2 separate regions of the Homo sapiens genome follow, and region 2 is linked to region 1. Evidence: promoter capture Hi-C in 16 types of primary human blood cells and fetal thymus (Javierre and others, 2016). All regions are on one chromosome and are shown on one strand. Each heading gives the region's core, a stretch centred on a gene start or on the middle of the fragment in contact. The rest is flanking DNA. Distances are from core to core; before and after follow the strand shown.

Region 1 (3,808 bases), core at 803-3,302:
GCACTATTTTGGACTCATTGGACGTGCAGAAGTGAACATAGAACTTACATTCGGGGTTGAGGGAAAATAAATAAACACATAAACATCAAAACCAAAAACATCGGGGAAAGAGAAGGACTATGAAGAAACAGGCAGGATGAGAGAGCAGAGAGTGCGGGAGGCTGTGGAAACAAGGTGCTCAAGGAAGTCTTTTGCTCAGGAAGTCTTCCCAAAGAAGTGACATCTGAGTAGAGATCTGAAGGCAGCAGCAAAGAGCCTTGCAAATATCTGGGGTACGGGGGCATTTCAGTTAAGGAGGACAGCCAGGGTAAAGGGAAGGAGAGGGTGGAGAGGAGGTGCGACCCAGGGAGACAGATCACATAGGATGTTGGAAATCACCTTTGATCGTTAGCATGATGGTTGTTACTAAGAACCAGGGAAGTGGCGTGGCTGGATTTATATTTTGAAAGGATCATGCTGCTGCTGTGTAGAGGACAGGCTAAAAGGGACAGTCGTGGAAAAAGGAACCCCACTTAGGAGGCTGTTGCAGCCATACACAGCAGAGATGTGAGGAGCGGTGAAGGAGGCTCAAAGTCATCAGACTCAGGATGTGTTTTGTAGGGAGAGCCAACAAGATTTGCTGATTGCAAATCTGATGATCAGATGTGGAATATGAAAGAAAAAGGAGTTGATGATGGCCCAGGTGTTTGCCCTGGGCCAAATGGTGGTACCACTTACTCAAATGTGGAAGACCAAGGGTAGATTAGATTTAGGAAGAAGCAGAATTTCTGCTTTAAATATGTTAAGTCCCTGGAAAGATTCTGCAGGCAGTGTTGTTATTTGCTTTGCTTCGGCCAGCAGGTGTGGCTCTGTTTTTTTCCAGCAGCAACTGATGGTGGCCCAGCCGTAGCTGTAGACTGAATGCTGATTGGAATTGTGTCAATTGGCTTTAACAAAACAGGGGGTAAGAGAGTTGAGGGTATTAGAAAGAGACCCAGTGAAATGACAGACCAAATGTAAAACTCCAGTCCTGGAACCAATTTTAATTAGTTTGAACTGATCAGAAGTGACAGAAGCCTAACCCAAACTAATTTGAGCAAAAGAGGAGGAACCAATGGCTCAAGTAACAGAAAGCACACCCAAGTAGCTCATAGAAGAGAAGAAAGAGCTTCAAGGCATAATAAAGTGGCCACATGACCTTGAACTGGGGATGAAAGACAGCTGTGTAACCCCATGTGCCCCATGTATGGGAGTGGGATGGTAGCAGATCTAAGACAAAAGGGAGTAGCTGGGACTACAGTGAAATGGAGAGGGAATACCCAATCCAACGCATTGAAATTGCACAAACACAGAGTTTGCAGAAATAAAATGTGCCTAACACTTTGCATTCTCTGAGAGAGATCCAGGCTTTGAACGTTCTGGCAAAATCGGTGTTAAACAATCACCGCTAGAATCATGGGAAGTGAGAAGACTTTTGTACCTACCAGTCTCAAGCTGAACAGTATGAAACAGGGCAGTGAACGACCCCCTTTTTTAATATTAAATACATAACACAAGATTAGATGTCCTGGCTGCCACCTTAGTAGAGCAACAACTCTGCCTGCGTGTTGATGGCTTGATTGTCCTACACAAATAAGGAGTCTCAACAAACAGCCCAGCCAGTCATTATAAAGAATACAGCCTTCTGTAACTCTACCATTAAGTTTGGCAGACCACTAATTAGACAGGCAATTCTCAAGAACTGAACCAGCAGCCTAACTCACTCTGCACCTTGGAGTTACCCTTGAGCTCACCCCCAACAGGACCTAGTAAGTTAAGGTGACTCAAACTAGAGGTGCTTCACTCCTACATTTGTTTGCAGGAGGGGCAGACACTCCAGGCAGCTCCCAAGAAATAGGATATAACATATTACTCACCTGTCATACAGCAGCAAAGGCAGCAAGAGACAGCGCCTGCCAAATACCCCAGGCCCTTGGAGGACACAGTTCTGAGGTTTGCACAAAGCCACAGCTAAATACCTTCACCTGAAGTCCCTGATGCCCACAGCACGAGAAACCATGCAACCAATTCTCCATAGAACCTGGTGCAGGAAAGAACTTTCCTCTCCTGTGAACTTCTACCAGGCAATGGGAATTTTATAGGAATCATTGGCATGGGTGTTGGCCTGAGCGTGCCACATTTGCCACTTCTGATAGAGCCCTTTGGGTTTCAATCTATGCCAAGTCTATTGTGAAACTTCATCACAGCATGAAACATATCCTGTGTTCCTTGTACGTCATACCTCCTCACTTCTGAATGGCTCTTGCTCTTCCTTGCTCATCTGTAGTGAGTGAGTTTGGTTTTTGGAACTGTCAATCATAAATGGTATCCACATTATGCAATTATTGATGTGGAGGCAGCACACTGCAGGAGGTGCCCCCTCTGGCGCCTGTCCCTGCCTGTGTGTCCAAAGGCTCCCCCTCGGCTTCCTCCCCGGGTTGCTCCCTTCCCCACGAGGTCATGTCCTCTCCAAGCCGAGTAGCCTTGCATGGCCTCCCCGAGGTCCTTCCGAGAACCTCCATTTCCTCTGCTGTGGAACAATCCCAACCCCTCTTTCGTGGTTGCAGATGCAGAGAGGATAAGGGGATACAGGCAATGGAGCTGGTAAACAGTGACATCCTATATTAATTTGAGGTCACTGCTTATCACCAGGCAGCCAGTGGGGCCTAAGAGGGCCCCTCCTCCCTTTATCTGCTCTCAGATGTGTCATCTCTGCTGCAAGGAGGAAATTAGCTGGGCCAATATGACCATGTTTTGGAATGGGAGAATGGAGGGAGGCATTCTCAGACTCTTGAAACTTTCTTCCATGTATAACTTGATGCATTTTTACCAACGTGTATGCCCATGCAACCGCCACCCAGATCAAGATGTGGAACACTTCCGTTACCCCAGGAAGTGCCCCCATCCCACTCCTGCCCAGCCGCCACCCCCAGCCCCTCATTTCCAACACAGTAGATTAGTTTTGCAAGTTCTTGAACGTTACATAAAAGAAATCATATAGTACATAGCCTTTTGTCCGGCTTCTTTAACTCAACATAATGTTTTGAGGGTTTTTGTTGTGTTGTTGTTGTTGCTGTTGCTGTTTTGAGATGGAATCTTGCTCTGTTGCTCAGGCTGGAGTGCAGTGGCATGATCACAGCTCACTGCGGACTCAACCTTCTGGGTTCAAGCATTTCTCCCACCTCAGCCTCCCCAGTAGCTGAGACTATAGGCACGCACCACCATGCCCAGCTAATTTCTGTATTTTTTGTGGAGACGGGGTTTCGCCTTGTTGCCCAGGCTGGTCTTGAACTCCTGAGCTCAAGCAATCCACCTGCCTTGGCCTCTCAAAGTGCTGGGGGTACATGAGCCATCATACCCTGCCAACATAACATTTTTGAGGTTAATCCATGTTGTTGCAAATATCCATTCCTTTTATTTATTGCTATATAGTATTCCATTGTGTGAGTGCACTGGAATTCATTCTACTGTTGATGGACATCTGGGCAGCTTCCAGTTTTTTAGCTGTTAGGGTCCATGTTACTGTGGACACATTGGTATATATGTTTGGTGAGCACCTGCACGCCTTTCTCTTGGGTGTATACCCAGGGGTGGGAACGCTGGCAAGCACATGGCCAGTTTTAGCTGACTCCGCCACAGTCCCCCAGTGTGGTCGTACCACACCCACTCTCTCCAGCAATGGCCTTAAGCTTTTTTGGTGGCACCAGCCTCTTCTTTTCATCATACAATAGAACGAGCCTACACCACGCAGTCAGACAGACTTCAGCTCATGTCTCGGCACCTCTGAGCA
Region 2 (3,607 bases), core at 186-2,685, 360 kb before region 1:
TAGAATTAGTCATGTGGTTACCCCTAGATACAAAGATGGTACTGCTTGGAAATATAGTGCATTGGGCTGCCTCTTTACAGTGACCGTTTCATACTGTGATTTGTTTCCATATTTGTGCCTACCCCCACTTTTTTGGACTAAGATAGCTGACAGTTTATTTAATTTCGCATTTTTTCAAACAATTAGTTAATAAAGTAATTTATTAATTTTATTATTTTTTGTTTTTCTATTTTAAATTTATGTTTCTGTTTTATATTAAATTTTTCTTTCAATATGTAATGTTTAGGTTTATTTTGATATTTTTCAATACTTGTGACTGGGACCTTTATTTATTTTCATTTGATCTCAATTATTAATATATTGAAGGCTAAAAGTTTCCTCTGAACACTGCTTTAGCTATGTCTCATATGTTATCATATATCTTCATATTCTACACAATTGTCAGTTCTGAAATTTTCTTTTTTAGTTCAGAATTATTTAAATGAAAAAAATTAAATTTTTTATTTTATTGTACATTTCTAGATGTATTGCATTAGTATCAGAGAATGGTATTTGATTACAGCTCTAATTGTGTCTTATTTGAATCAACTGTTCTAATATAGAGTTATTTTATAAATATTCTATGGGTACCTAAAAAGATAAAAAGTTTATTTCCAAGGATCACACACAAACATACACACACATAAAGTTTTTATCTATTTTACATGTATATATAGTATGTGTGTGTTGTATATATACGTAAAATAACTGATAAGAGGTGTGACATGAACTCACCTTAAAATCACTAAAGCAGGCTACAAACCAGAAAGGGGATTAAAAGAGGGGTCATAGAAAGAATCTTCACATGAGTACTAAACTTCCTGGAAGTTGACATATATTTATTTTCTCTGCTGTTATTGGCTAATTGTGGCTTTGGCTCTTTAGAAGCTAACCAAGCTCACTGATATCAGTATGTTTACACTGCTGTATAAATTTCAATATACTTAATAATATAGTCTTTGCTTAAGAACCTTTCTAGGTCTCTTGTTGAGAGGTATATATCCAAAATTCATTTAGGTAGAGACTTGTCTCTGTGTTCCAAATAAATGAAATGTCTATTTTAATGGCAATTATCCTGGATAGAGGCGTACATTGACTTGGTCAAGGAGTAAATGTTGAGCAAATTTTGCCATGAGCCAAAAAGTTTTATCCCAGAAATAGTCTTACCAAAGGGTCAAGACATACATTGAATTTGCTGGAACAGCAGCCTAAGCCCAACAAAGCTTTGGCTAAAGCTTATGAGTAATTCTGCTATCATTTCCTGTTTATAATCACCAGAGTAGAAAGGCGACCTCGGTGACCGAGTGAATCCATCCACGCCTAGACAGGGCCGAAAGAATCATGAGCAGCATCCAGAGACTGCATGAACTCTGCGTCTAACTGAGGGTAAAGGGAAGATGAGATTCTTGGATAATTCCCTTTCTTGATGCCCTAAATTGCATCTTATTGCAAATAAAGAAATCATAATTGGTCTGGTTTAGAAGGGAGAGGCAGCTTCAATTATGTAATTATGTCAGATCTAACAGCAAAGAGAAATTACATCAAGCGTAAGCTTCCTCCAAAGACCAGTTTAGAGTTCTCTAGTGTCATAAGAGTAGCCTCCCTTAGAGTTGCAGGTGATTAGTTAGAATAACCAAGAAAAGGGAGTGAAAATGGACTTTAAGGTCTAAAAGGAAACTTGCCTGACCAGTGGTGTGGATCCTTGGAACTGTGAGGGGCCCATAAAGTGGGATAACCCAGTCTGGATTCTTAAAATCATTTGGTGATCTGAGAGGTGGTTGTATATATGAACTGAAAAATCTTAGCAAGTAAAAACTGCAAATTTGGGACACAAATAGGACAGAAAAACCCAGAAGGGAGATGGTACATACTGTACTAATAAGGCAAGTGGGTCTTGGCTATTATTTGTAAACTTGAATGAAATATTCTTATTTTCTTCAAGAGTTTGTGGAGCAGTTCTCACCGATTAACTTATTTCCATTGATTCTCTTGGCCATTAGTTGTTAACTTTTTTAAAAGAGCCATGGACCCCTTTTCCTCCTGCATATGATTATCCAGTTTAGAATTATGTGGGAAATTATCTTCAGTATATCCATCTAAATGTAAAAGTTTGTCTATAATTTCAGGGGGCTCCAACAATGCCTGAAACTTATCCTTGGACCTCGAGTTAAGGCCATTTTCTTTAGGAGGCAAGCAAGATTAATATTATTATTTCTGCCTTACCAATGAAGAAACGGAAACCCAGAGTTGTCAAGTGACTTGTTTTAGGTAACACAGCAATGTAGTGTCAGATTTTAGACCAGAACCTAGACTTCGTGTTCCTTGTCACCACAGCATCCCTTGGAATGCAATCAGTATCCGTCTAGCAAAAACCACCAGGAGTGTACACCTTTACTGGAGCATGCTGACGTCATGTGAGAAATGCTTCTGGTGTAGATTTTTTTATGAGAGAGTTGAGGCTGGAGCAGGCTGCGTTGCATTCTGCTTAATTTCTTCATCAATAACCTTGCTGGACTTGCCAGTCCTTGCAAACACTGAGAAATTGGCTTGTCTTTGAATTTTTTATTGCATTATTATGCTCCCAATCGATATGTGAATCTCTACAGTCCTCCTGCCCTTGGAGAAGGATACATCAGAAGACATTTGTATTCTGAATTCTGCCTTGCATTTGTTTGCTGGGAGAGAGCTGGAGAGCCAGGGCTTGCTGGGAGACAGGAGAAACTTTCGTTGTGCTTGCTATCTTGCCTCTCTGTTATGTACATCCTTGTCACAGCACAACTGGCCTTTCTGTTCGAAAAGAAGTCAGAAATGTCCAGGAGCTCATTTGTGTAGGTGAGCAATTTGCCTTTGATAGTCTTTTGCCTCCTACTTAGACATCCTACCATCTTCTAGGGTTCTTCCCCACTCCCCACCACATACCTCTCTCTCAATCAACTGGTAACTGACATTTGTGTAGGTGTTAATAATGGATTAGACCTTTATCTGTTCAATCTTATAGGAATGTTTACATGTTAATAAGGGGCTTATGGAAAGCATCAATAATAGTGCTCCATTATGGGCTGACAGGCAGTGTGACAAGCAGCAGACAGATTTGGGAATTCCCTGATCCCATCTGGAATCCCCTGAATAACATATCAGGAGTCCCCTTTTCTTCTATGCATAAGAAAGTCCTTACTTATGGAAGATAGTATGGTGGTTCACTTGCCTCCATTACAACCCTTCCCATTACATAAATGCTGAAAAGCTAGAAACAATAATTTCTGCACCACCTTAGAGTTAGAGTTCCAGCTATGTTTAGGCTCCACCAATTAGGTGAATTTGTGCAACCCAGAGACATGGAAAGAAAAGGAAGGGTGTGGGGAGTCTCTTTTGCTGGTGGGGATTGTGGTAGAAGTGGCATAATTTTAGAGCAGTAGTATAGCTTTCCTGGTCATGTCAGGTTAGATGCTCATTCAATAAGTGACAGTGTTAGGAGTTTTCTGATCTATCAGTTGCTGCAACAGGATAAAGTGGCTCTGCAGAAACAACTGGATGCTCAGTCTAGAGTATTTTCTCTTGACCTTTCAAA

Evidence for each region. Contacts are between HindIII fragments. The CHiCAGO score rates a contact against its expected background, and 5 or more counts as called.
Region 2: a contact is called between a fragment that was not itself captured here and the fragment with the promoter of LINC01433 in region 1, in 1 of 17 cell types (M0 macrophages). The highest score is 5.5, in M0 macrophages.

The regions. Positions count from the first base shown.
Region 1 is chr20:4,191,334-4,195,141 of GRCh38, reverse strand. LINC01433 (long intergenic non-protein coding RNA 1433) reads right to left here and starts at 2,052. Exons shown (of 3, transcript NR_033917.1): 1 at 1,896-2,052. The HindIII fragment of the contact is 5,002 bases long and covers 1-3,709 here.
Region 2 is chr20:4,553,383-4,556,989 of GRCh38, reverse strand. No RefSeq gene overlaps it. Among named protein-coding and RNA genes, the nearest start is that of PRNP, 130 kb to the left of the region's middle. The HindIII fragment of the contact is 317 bases long and covers 1,277-1,593 here.